3 separate regions of the Homo sapiens genome follow, and all the other regions are linked to region 3. Evidence: promoter capture Hi-C in human tissues and cell types (Jung and others, 2019). All regions are on one chromosome and are shown on one strand. Each heading gives the region's core, a stretch centred on a gene start or on the middle of the fragment in contact. The rest is flanking DNA. Distances are from core to core; before and after follow the strand shown.

Region 1 (4,292 bases), core at 1,644-4,143, 430 kb before region 3:
CTGCCTCAGCCCCCCCGAGTAGCTGGGATTACAGGCGTGCGCCACATGCTCAGCTAATTTTTTGTATTTTTAGTAGACATGGGGTTTCGCCATGTTGGCCAGGCTGGTCTCGAACTCCTGACCTCAGGAGATCCACCCGCCTCAGCCTCCCAAAGTGCTGGGATTACAAGTGTGAGCCACTGCGCCCGGCCTCAACTTAACTTTTTAAATTACTATTGAAATGCCTATTTTTCTAATTCCTTTAGTAAATTTTTTTTTTTTTTTTGAGACGGTGTCTTGCTCTGTTAACCGGGCTGGAGTGCAATGGTGTGATCTCGGCTCGCTGCAGCCTCTGCCTCCCAGGTTCAGGGGATTCTCCTGCCTCAGCCTCCTGAGTAGCTGGGATTACAGGTGCCCGCCACCAAGCCTGGCTAATTTTTGTATTTTTAGTAGAGACGGGGTTTGCCATGTTGGCCAGTTTGATCTCGAACTCCTGACCTCAGGCGATCTTCCCACCTTGGCCTCCCAAAGTGCTGGGATTACAGGCATGAGCCACCGCACCTGTCCAGTAATTGTTTTTAAGTAAAATTTTTACTGACTTATAACATGTAAAGAAAGTACACAGGCTAGACATGGTGTCTCACATCTGTAATCCCAATTCTTAAGGAGGCTGAGGTGGGAGGATGGCTTGAGCCCAGCACTTTGAGACCAGCCTTGGCAACATAGTGAGACCCCATCTGAACCAAAAAAAGAAAAAGAAAGTACACAGCGAGTACACAGCTTAATAATGGTGTATTTTCACAAAGTGAACACACCCATGTAAGAAGAAGCAACATTACTGGCACCTCCAAAACTCCTTTGTGATCCTATTACAGTCACTGCTTTATCACACTTCAGGTCTAGCTGCTCCTGTTACAGTCACTACTTTACTGCACTTCGGGTCTGGCTGCAACGCTGACTAGATTAGTTTTGCATTTATTTTTTACTTCTAAATACTTGAACAAACCTTGGGCCATTGGTACAGTTTTGACAATAGGCAATTTGAATTTTCCAAAACAAGTTTAATACAGCACACACACACAGAGTAATGAACCCCTTTGTACTGATCACCTACCTTCAACAATTCATGGATAATCATCTAACTTTCCCAATTATTTTGAAGTAAACTTAGGCATCATGTTATTACTTTAGTAGATATTTCTAAGTATGTACTTCTTTTTTTTTTTTTTGAGATGGAGTTTCACTCTTGTTGCCCAAGCTGCAGTGCAATGGCATGATCTTGGCTCACTGCAACCTCCACCTCCTGGGTTCAAGTGATTCTCCTGCCTCAGCCTCCCAAGTAGCTGGGATTACAGGTGCATGCCACCACGCTTGTCTAGTTTTTGTTTTTTTTTTGTTTTTTTTTTGTATTTTTAGTAGAAACGAGGTTTCACCAGGTTAGCCAGGCTGGTCTCGAACTTCTGACCTCAGGTAATCCGCCTGCCTTGGCCCCCAAAAGTGCTGGGATTACAGGTGTGAGCCACCATGCCCCACCTCTAAATATGTATTGCTTAAAGATGAAGATTACTCCTTTTTTGTTTGTTTTGAGTTGGAGTCTCGCTCTGTCGCCCAGGCTGGAGTGCAGTGGCGCGATCTCGGCTCACTGCAACCTCTGTCCCCTGGGTTCAAGCAATTCTCCTGCCTCAGCCTCCCAAGTAGCTGGGACTACAGGCGTGCACCACCACACCCAGCTAATTTTTTTGTATTTTTAGTAGAGACAGGGTTTCACCGTGTTAGCCAGGATGGTCTCGATCTCCTGACCTTGTGATCCGCCTTCCTCAGCCTCTCAAAGTGCTGGGATTGCAGGTGTGAGCCACTGCGCTTGGCCAAAGATTATTCCTTTTTTAAACATAAAAGTACCTTAAAGAATATAACTACACCTTCAATAAATGAATTAATTGTTGAAATCAAGTTTTCTATCAGAGTTCAAAGCTTCCCAAATAGCTCATGATTTCCTATGTTGCTTATTTGTTTGAATTAGGGTTTATATATTACATTGGTTGTTATGTCCCTTTAGTATCTTTTAATCCCAAAGTTCTCCCTGGTTCTGTTTTTTTCCCTTGTAATATTTGTTTATTTTTTGAAAAGCTGGTTGTTGGTTTTATTTCTTCAAATATTCCTTCAAATGTATATTCTCATTCAACCTTTTCATGAAATTGTGATTAATGTGAACTTTTAAAGTCGGGGTATTATTTATACAATTAAATCTACACATCTTAAGTGTTTGGTTTGAATTTTGATCATTGTATATACTCAGTGTATTTACCACTCAGTGTATTTTGTTTCCAATTGTAATCCTTTTTTTGATGGAAAAAGGAGAAATCCATTCTTTAGACTGTACAGTTTAGAGTAACTCCAATAGCAAGGAGAAAAGAGTAATAATTTCTTAATCCCAACACTTTGGAAGGCCAAGGCTGGCGGATCACCTGAGGTCGGGAGTTCGAAACCAGCCTGACCAACATGGAGAAACCCTGTTTCTACTAAAAATACAAAAAAAATCAGCTCGGCGTGGTGGCACATGCCTGTGATCCCAACTACTCGGGAGGCTGAGGCAGGAGAATTGCTTGAACCCGGGAGGCGGAGGTTGCAGTGAGCCGAGATTGCGCCATTGCACTCCAGCCTGGGCAACAAGATTGAAACTGTCTCAAAAAAAAAAATAAATAAAATAATAATAATTTCTTGCTGTTAGAAATACAAATTAGGAATATAAAGTTTTCTGCTTTTCATGAAGCAGAAATGGATGAAGTAAGAAAAAATGGGTTTTGGAAAATACTACTTGTTAGCAGAGGGTTATGTGTAACATACTAGTCCTGAAATATGTTGGAGCTAAAGGTCAGAAGTGTAAGTGCACTGCATTGGAATTTATTTCTTTGCAAAAACGTTGTGGCTATTTGATTATTCTTCTAAATTGCATGCACTCTTTCCTGAACCCTGCTTCTCCTCTGCCTTAATTTTAAGCATTGGATGGACTTTATCGCCTCTAAGTTTCTCTGAAGTAAGGAGGGTCATGTGGTTATTGTGACTAGCAGTTAACTGTAGTTGAGGCATAGATATGTCTTGAGTATGTTATTTGAACAAATATTAGCTAACTTGTTTCTTTCATCTTTTATTTGCCTATGATTTGAATTTATTGCTGTATTTACCCTTGGGAACATTTATTGATTGACTGTTTTGTTAGATTAGTGCATTGATCTTAGTTTGATACTAGTAAGAAGGGAGAATGGAAGTTGCTAAGAGTTACTTAGTGGCTACTCTTTGAGCAGTCATCTTAAATACAGCACCCTCGTACCTACCCAAGTGATGGAGGTGATGATAGCCATTTTTTAGAATGCTAAGATCAGGAAACAGAATCAGAGTTCCAGTGATTTGCCTAAGGCCATGCATCTAGTAACTACCAAGAACAAGGATCTAAACCCTGAACTTTTACTCTAGAGTTACTTAAAAGTTTTCACTGAAATATGCTTTCTTAGCTTGGCATGGTGGTGCACGCCTGTAGTCCCAGCTACTTGGGAGGCTGAAGCAAGAGGATTGCTTGAGCCCCAGGAGTTTGAAGCTGCTGTGAGCTGTGATCTTGCCACTGCACTCCAGCCTGGGTGACAGAGTGAGACTCTGTCTCAAATAAGTAAATTACATTAATAAATAAAACTTGCTGTTTTCATGAACATTAGAAATCTAAGCAATACTAAGTATCCTTTTGCAGCCTTTGCTTCTTAAAGGGCTTTTATTTAGTACATGAAAAAAAGGTACTATTTAAAACATAAAATTATATCAAATGGAATTGTGATAAAAATTTCGGCATGAACATACAAGTCTGAAGTTGTTTCAAGAGAAAGTTTTGCACTCAAAAATTAGTAAAGCAAAATAATTTGTCTAATGTCTATAATGCAATATAATGACATGAAACCAGTATTACTGTTTTCAAAGGCATTTAATAGGAAAATAGTTTATGGAACTGTCTTTAGATGATTCAGTTCAGGAAGAATGGTTTTCTTATAACTTGAGGTTACTTACATTTTTAGGTCTTTTCGATGTTTTAAAGTGAAAATCTCTTTTCATTTTATTAAAAATAGGTTCATAAATTTAAAAGCTTTTTCATAAAGTAACATTAGTAATAGAAATTTGTTTTTAAAGAGGTGATGTCTTGTAAATCTTCTAAAAATTGTTTACCTATATTCAGATCTCTATATGATTCAGATTTACTTTCTTTCTTTTTTTTTTTTTTTTTTTGGGACAGTGTCTCGCTCTGTCACCCAGGCTGGAGTGCAATGGCGCGA
Region 2 (4,328 bases), core at 1,419-3,918, 330 kb before region 3:
AAGTCAATGTTTGGTATCCAAATGACACAAATGAACTAAGATTTCAACATTTAGTTTAAATTGAAAGCAGTGAGAATACAGTCACTCCCTCTATTCAATCATTTCTTTTGCTGTGTGAACCCAATATTTGAAACTCAGGCTCCCATAAACCAGCTCAGACACCTCAGTGTCTGTGATCTGAGACCAAGCAACAGCCCCAGAACCCATGGCTAAAAGCCCCTTATGGAAGAACAAAGGGGTGATGGGCTGGACTTCTGCATGAGAAGGAGGCACCACAAATGAGTCAGACCCATTCCTTCCTCTAATAGGGATCTAAGTGGTTTCTCTGGCCCTTCCCATCTTTTCTGGGAAAGTAAGAAAATGAGGTGTTTAGTAATGCTCTTCAGATATGGAAAATTAAATAAAATCTTATACATTATAAAAACAACAATTTTAATTGGAGAAAACAGTTTTTCCAGGATTGGGTGGAGGCCAGGGAGAGGTAGGAGAGTAGAATTCTCATAAACAGATTTTTCTCCTCTATACATGGAAACAGGGCAAGAAAATGGTAATGTATACATTATGTCTGTGTTTCTTCTATGCTGCTGCTGCTGCTTTTTTTTTTTTTTGAGACAGTTTCCCTTTGTCATCCAGGCTGGAGTGCAGTGGCGCGATCTCGGCTCACTGCAACCTCCACCTCCTGGCCTCAAGCAATTCTCCTGTCTCAGCCTCCGGAGTATCTGGGATTACAGGCATGCCCAACATGCCTGGCTAATTTTTGTATTTTTGATAGAGATGGGGTTTCACCATGTTGGCCAGACTGCTCTCAAACTCCTGACCTCAAGTATCCACCCTATTCAGCCTCCCAAAGTGTTGGGATTACAGGTGTGAGCCACCGTGCCTGGCCTCTACTGTCCTCAAAAAACTTGCTGGGAATGTGGAGGGATGCTCTTTAAAAAAAAATCACCTAGGAGCCACCAAGATGTCTGATCTTCATTCAGCTTTATCAAATTGGCATCATGGTTAATTGTCACTAGGTAAACACTTTTCAGTGAGCTCAAAGTGGATAGAAGGTGGTCATTTATTTAACGCTTTCTTCCACCAGAACATGACAGCTGAAAAGCAGGTGGCCCTGGCTGTCTCCAATTCCCTACCGTCTTTCATTAACAACCTGAAAGCTCAGGGGCCTGGTTAGTAGTCCATAAGACTCACTCCAGGACTAAGTAACATATTCTATCAGGAGGCATAATTAATTGAAAGCACAAAGGCATTCTGGGAAAATAAAATTACTAAACATGTTCACAACATCCTTTGTTGCCTTAAAGCTCGCTTTTATACAGTTTTGACTGATGTACAATTAGGAATCAAGAAGTGGAGGAAAAGGTATTAAGTTTAAATGAGGTAAGAGACTTCTTAGAGTAAAATGCCTTGTTTCCAAAAATCAACTATCACTTTTTCATCCTCAGCCTTTTAAAAAAATTTTTTTTTTAAATTTTTTTAATTAGAGACAGGGTCTCTGTCTGTCTGCCAGGCTGGAGTACAGTGGCACAATCATAGCTCACTGCAGTTCTGAACTTCTGGGCTCAAGTGATCCTTCTGCCTCAGCCTCCCAAGGTGCTGAGATTACAAGCGTGAGCCACCACACCCAGTACCTCATCCTCAGCCTTTACAATTACATTGCAGGTGTCTTTTCTCCACTTTCGCAAGCTTGATAACAATAATCTTTTCCTTCAAGTGCTGATCTCCAATAACTTAGGTTAGCTGAGGTATCAGTTTTAATGACTTTTCAGAAAGAACTACCTTAATAGGAAAAGTCAAGGTTTAAATAGACTCAGAGCCTTACAAGAATCTCTGGATTTGCTGATTTCATTATCTACTTCAAAGATTTTCTGACTGTGAAATGACTGAGATTTTTTAAAAGTGACTGTAGTGAAGAGGTATGGTTCCTTCTGAAGAATCTTGCTTTTCTTCTTCTCTGATACCTCTAAGTAACTGAGCCGCTGAAGTATTAAAAATCCTTTTAGAAGTTTAGATTTATTTTTTTAAATGTCTATAATCTATGCCATATGTGAAACTATTCTTGCTTGCCTTCTTGAAACCTCCAGAGGCAAGAAATAAAGAAATAAATAAATAATAAATAAATAAAGGACTCCAGAACAGTTGTTGAGGGATAGAGATGTCTCAATGTACAAAGCTTAGGTTTTAAAAGAGAAATAGCTATTCATGTATATCGAGAGGCCTAACTGATTGACTGCAAGTCAAATTCAGGAAAGAACTGATCCTGCAGGTCAGAGAAGAATCTGTGTAATTAAATTGAAATTGTTTCTTTTTTTCTTTTCTTTTCTTTTTCTTTACAAAAGATAAGAGCATTTAGTACTTTAAGAAAAGATATCTTATTTTGACCACTTGGTTCATTTAATTAAATTAGACTCCGATTTTAAAAATTGCTATTAAGATTGAAAAGGAGGCCGGGCGTGGTGACTCATGCCTGTAATCCCAACTTTGGGAGCCCAAGGCAGGTGGATCACCTGAGATCAGGAGTTTGAGACCAGCCTGGCCAACATGGTGAAACCCTGTCTCTACTAAAAATACAAAAATTAGCAGGGTGTGGTGGTTCACGCCTGTAGTCCCAGCTACTCGGGAGGCTGAGACATGAGAATTGCTTGAACATGGGAGGTGGTGGTTGCAGTGAGTCGAGATCGCACCACTGCACTCCAGCCTGGGAAACAGAGTGAGACTCGGTCTCAAAACAAACAAACAAATAATCAAACAAACAAACAAACTGAAAAAGAGTGCTATAGTGATTTTCTTGGTTGGCTATATCATCACTTTATGAAGCCTGGTTTTACTAATTCTGGGTGCATTTAGAAGTTGGCTTTAGATCTTAGAACACAGTCTATAATCTAATTTCAGTATGTAGCAATTAAAATTATGTCATCAAATGAGCTGTGGACCCAGATGAGCTTTATAATTGTATTACCTTTCAATAAGCATCATTAGTAAGTCCTAGGTTTATCATGAAATTGGTGCCTTGTAAATTTCAAAAGGCCATGTCGAAGCAGAGGCCAAGTCAAGGCAGCCTCTCAGGGCACAGAGTTCTAGTCAAGATTGCTAGCTAATGCACCAAACACTGAATATGCCCTAATAAAGCTTTTTTCTTTCTTTTAAAGTTATTTAGTCCAGTGTTTTTATTATCTCCTAACACTGAAGTATTTTCTAAAATTAAAAAATTTCACAAGAGTGCATACTAATATTTTTATGTGTAATTTTACATCTCAAATATTTTTTTCTTTTCTTTTCTTTTCTTTTTTTTTGAGATGGAGTTTCACTCTTGTTGCCCAAGCTGGAGTGCAATGACGTGATCTGGGCTCACTGCAACCTCCGCCTCCCGGGTTCAAGCAATTCTTTTGCCTCAGCCTCCTGAGTAGCTGGGATTACAGGCATGCGCCACCACGCCCAGCTAATTTTGTATTTTTAGTAGAGATGGGGTTTCTCCATGTTGGTCAGGCTGGTCTCGAACTCCCCACCTCAGGTGATCCGCCCACCTTGGCCTCCCAAAGTGTTGGGATCACGGGCGTGAGCCACCGTGCCCGGCCACATCTCAAATATTTTTCTAAGTAAATCAGTGGCTTGAAGTGATAGAGTGAGTGTATAATTAGATGGCCTACTGCCATTTGCAAAATAAAGGACATTTCGATGTAAATGCTGCTAAGCCACTCTAGTATTGTCAGGGCACCTGCATACACCCACTTTGGGGCTTCGGAGAATATATCAGATAGAGGAAGTGAAGGGTTCATGACCTACATATCCCCCTTACCCTATAGCTTAAAGACCTTCCAGGGAGGTCCACAGTTATGACCTCAATGATGGAAAGCACGATGGGACTCCATCAAAGGGGTGTAGCTGGAGAAGAAAAAAAATGGGTGTAGGGCCAGTGGATAAACAAGATAAAAAGGCTAAGTGGAAAACTGGAAAATAATTGTTTAAGACAATGGCTGTGTTTGCACTCCAGATGGTAGGTGCACTTTCAGAAAGGTGGCCTGGCCAAGCTCCCCAGAGAAGGGGTGCTCAAGGCACAACCCTTTAAGGTTCTGCCTACCTTAACTACTTTGGAGACCTTTGCAGCATCATGAGACTGGACACTAGGTGGTGCAATTCATCTCCTCTAGGACCCAAAGAAGAGGAAAGGAAAGGAGTAGAAAAGAAATGAAGGAGAGGAAAGGGAAAAGTTACAGAGAATGGGGTTGAAGGGAAAGAACATTAGAAGCGAAAGAGGGAAAATAAGAGATAGGAGGATAAATGTGAGAAAGAAAGAAAAAGTACATCACAAAAAATCCTCAAAAGTAGTC
Region 3 (3,870 bases), core at 943-3,442:
ACCTGAGGTCGGGAGTTCAAGACCATCCTGACCAACATGGAGAAACCCCATCTCGACTAAAAATACAAAATTAGCTGGGCATGGTGGAGCATGCCTGTAATCCCAGCTATTCGGGAGGCAGGAGAATCACTTGAATCCAGAAGGTGGAGGTTGCGGTGAGCCGCGATCGCGACATTGCACACCAGCCTGAGCAACAAGAGTGAAACTCCATCTCAAAACAAAATAAAACAAACAAAACACCAAAAATTAGCTGGGCGTGGTGGCGTGTGCCTGTAATCCCAGCTACTCCGGAGGCTGAGGCGGGAGAATCGCTTGAACCCGGGAGGCAGAGGTTGCAGTGAGCCGAGATCGTGCCACTGCACTCCAGACTGGTAGACAAGAGTGAAACTCCGCCTCGGAGAAAAAAAAAAAAGTTAATTTAGAGTCCATCTATCTTATGGCAGAAGATAACTAGATTTAGAGTCCATCTATCTTATGGCAGAAGATAACTAGTGATGTGTCACAATAATCAGAAGAGCCTTGTAGGTAAGTAAGCTATATATGGACCCCACCTATATTTCTAGTAGATATTTCTAGAAATATATGGACCCCACATATATTTCTAGTAGTTCTGCCAGGTTGGTTATCACTTCCACTTATATTTATCAGTGTCACTCATGTATTGTCTTAACTACTTGTATTTTTTCGTATGTGTCTAAATGGAAAGCAACATAATGTTCACGGTTCTCTGAGAAACAACAAAATTCCTAATACCTAAAAATGGTAATAATAATAAAAAAAAGACAAGCAGGGTTTAGGAAATTTATTTTAGGGCAACTGCCTGATTTATTTTAAGCCCTATGCTTAAAAATAAGTCTAATTCACATGACTTAAAATGCTGGAGCCAAGAAAAGTCGCTGCAAAGGCATTTAATGAAATACCTGGTTTGTCTAGTTGTCTTTGTTATGATTTTTGTATAAACCAAGAACGTCCTATCTTGATATATATAGTGGATTTTATATCTAAATATTTCTTGTATTTAATAAATTGAAAATAGAAATAGACATTTTTTCAAACAGTGTAAGATTTTCCTAACCTCTGACTCACATCGTAAGGCTGGTGGACTGTTCAGATGCTGTACGATGCTTTTTACTCCGATGCTTTTTGGTTCATCTGTAGCATTTTCCATCATGGGGTAAAAGATCCACATTTTCTATTTCTAGTGATCCTTAATTTGGCTTCTGAGCAAAAATAAAGTTTGATGAGGAATAAATTAAGGTAGATTTCCTGCTGAAACCAGTGAAGAACATAACTTTATCAGCGGGGGTGAGTGACAAGTCTTTCACCTTTCCTCACACCACAGTCAACGAAGTAACGGAACTAGGAGAAATGCCCATTATTCTCATGTCCTACATTAGTTCTGATAAAAATCACAATTAAGTTTCACTGAATGTTTTGACATTGAAACGGCAGCATTACACGTCCAGGAGAGAACTACAGTAGGGGTGTTATGAGAACTAACACGAACGACTTAAAAATATTGATTTTTTTCTACGAGATTATTTTCCTTTAAAAAAATTAAATTGAGCTTGACTTCTATTGACTGTATCTTCCGGAGTCAGTATTTTATGGCTCCCCTGACACACACGCCTGGCGTGGGAGGGCTGAGCGCTGCAGCGCTTCGGAACTTTCCCAGTGAATCGTAAATGGGTTCAACGCCGGGGCTCGCGGAGGGCTGTCCATGGAGTACCACTGAAAACCAAACGCCACTGGTGCTCAATGCTGGTACCTGCCGACGAAAAGGCTTCTTGCCTAAAAAAGAACCTATTGCCCCACCCTAACAGCAACAAGGAGAACAAGCACTCTCTCCTCGTCAGAAGTCTCTGGACTGGCTGCAACCCAGAGGAAACAGAGCTGGGGCATCTGCCGGGACAGCGATCAGAAGCAGCCAGAGCTCCGCCTCCGTCCGGACCTCCAAGGCCGCTCCAGAGCCCTGCATGGCTCCTCAGAGCCGGCCAAGGCGAGAACCTTGCCGGCAGCTGCTTACCCGCACTCGGCTCCTCCCAGCGGTCCGCCTTCTCCACCGCCTGCCCGCAAGGCCCCGCCCACCTCACCGCCCCGCCCCACCCCACCCTGCGGAGGCGACAGAGTGCGCGCGCGCGCGCGGGGTCCCGGCTGGTTCCCCTTCCGAGCGTCCGCGCCCCGCATGCGCAGTCTGCCCCGGCGGTCTCCGTTTGTTTGAACAGGAAGGCGGACATATTAGTCCCTCTCAGCCCCCCTCGCCCCACCCCCCAGGCATTCGCCGCCGCGACTCGCCCTTTCCCCGGCTGGGACCGCAGCCCCTCCCAGAAGCTCCCCCATCAGCAGCCGCCGGGACCCAACTATCGTCTTCCTCTTCGCCCGCTCTCCAGCCTTTCCTCTGCTAAGTCTCCATCGGGCATCGACCTCGCCCTGCCCCACCGGACACCGTAGCAGCAGCCCCAGCAGCGACGGGACAAAATGGGAGAGTGAGGCTGTCCTGCGTGGACCAGCTCGTGGCCGAGACTGATCGGTGCGTCGGGCCGGGCCGAGTAGAGCCGGGGACGCGGGGCTAGACCGTCTACAGCGCCTCTGAGCGGAGCGGGCCCGGCCCGTGGCCCGAGCGGCGGCCGCAGCTGGCACAGCTCCTCACCCGCCCTTTGCTTTCGCCTTTCCTCTTCTCCCTCCCTTGTTGCCCGGAGGGAGTCTCCACCCTGCTTCTCTTTCTCTACCCGCTCCTGCCCATCTCGGGACGGGGACCCCTCCATGGCGACGGCGGCCGGGGCCCGCTAGACTGAAGCACCTCGCCGGAGCGACGAGGCTGGTGGCGACGGCGCTGTCGGCTGTCGTGAGGGGCTGCCGGGTGGGATGCGACTTTGGGCGTCCGAGCGGCTGTGGGTCGCTGTTGCCCCCGGCCCGGGGTCTGGAGAGCGGAGGTCCCCTCAGTGAGGGGAAGACGGGGGAACCGGGCGCACCTGGTGACCCTGAGGTTCCGGCTCCTCCGCCCCGCGGCTGCGAACCCACCGCGGAGGAAGTTGGTTGAAATTGCTTTCCGCTGCTGGTGCTGGTAAGAGGGCATTGTCACAGCAGCAGCAACATGTCGACTGGGGACAGTTTTGAGACTCGATTTGAAAAAATGGACAACCTGCTGCGGGATCCCAAATCGGAAGTGAATTCGGATTGTTTGCTGGTGAGTAGCGCTGTTCTCTTTTGCTTGTCTGGGGTTTTGCATGTCTTTCCTTCCTCTTGCATTAGTCTGGTTCGCTGCAAAAGTCTCAGGTGTGCATAATCGTCTTGGAAAATGCTAGATTTCTGTTTCCTGAAGAATCTTGGAGTACCATTAACATCTCATGGTGTGGTCCTATTTGCCATTTGACTGGCTCTGTACTAACTACTCTGAACTTTTAATTCTGACTCAGTTCATGAGTACCCGAAAGATACTTACAAACTGCTATTGCAGGCATCCTATAAAAAGTTATCACGTCAGAGTTACTGCAATGTATACAGTTTGTTGAATGGCGATCGTAGTAATTAATGTTAATCTTTCTGATCCGTTTGACAGTTAAATTGGAAAGACTACTTTGCATTTTTTTTCCTTTTTGCGATTTAGCTCCTAGGGGTTTAGTTTTTAGCCTTGAAAATGATAACGGAGAATTGCTATTGAGGAAGTGATTTTTGAGCCAAAATTTCATAGGTGATTTGAGTTTGAAGGAACTTTTTGCTAAACTATTGTAAAAAACCAAGATAATTGGTCATAGGTAATTACAGTGTTAACTTATTTTATTGTATTATTGGTTACAAAAGTACGTACCATACAGTTATTGTAACTGTCTTTTTGGTGGTGTGGCACTTAACATTGTCACTTGTAAAACA

The links. Contacts are between HindIII fragments. The study calls those that stand out against the background at their distance.
Region 1: a contact is called between a fragment that was not itself captured here and the fragment with the promoter of ROCK1 in region 3, in 1 of the 25 tissues and cell types used here (dorsolateral prefrontal cortex).
Region 2: a fragment that was not itself captured here is called in contact with the fragment with the promoter of ROCK1 in region 3 in 1 of the 25 tissues and cell types used here (dorsolateral prefrontal cortex).

The regions. Positions count from the first base shown.
Region 1 is chr18:21,541,546-21,545,837 of GRCh38, reverse strand. The region is part of intron 8 of ESCO1 (establishment of sister chromatid cohesion N-acetyltransferase 1); the gene reads left to right. Among named protein-coding and RNA genes, the nearest start is that of ESCO1, 57 kb to the left of the region's middle. The HindIII fragment of the contact is 5,589 bases long and covers 99-4,292 here.
Region 2 is chr18:21,444,440-21,448,767 of GRCh38, reverse strand. The region is part of intron 11 of GREB1L (GREB1 like retinoic acid receptor coactivator); the gene reads right to left. All of the region lies in intron 1 of GREB1L-AS1 (GREB1L antisense RNA 1), which reads left to right. Among named protein-coding and RNA genes, the nearest start is that of GREB1L-AS1, 4.4 kb to the left of the region's middle. The HindIII fragment of the contact is 4,052 bases long and covers 643-4,328 here.
Region 3 is chr18:21,110,135-21,114,004 of GRCh38, reverse strand. ROCK1 (Rho associated coiled-coil containing protein kinase 1) reads left to right here and starts at 2,192. Exons shown (of 33, transcript NM_005406.3): 1 at 2,192-3,187. The coding sequence starts at 3,095. RefSeq lists enhancers at 1,594-1,653, 1,684-1,903, 2,003-2,297, 1,951-2,539 and a silencer at 1,944-2,333. The HindIII fragment of the contact is 9,004 bases long and covers 1-3,870 here.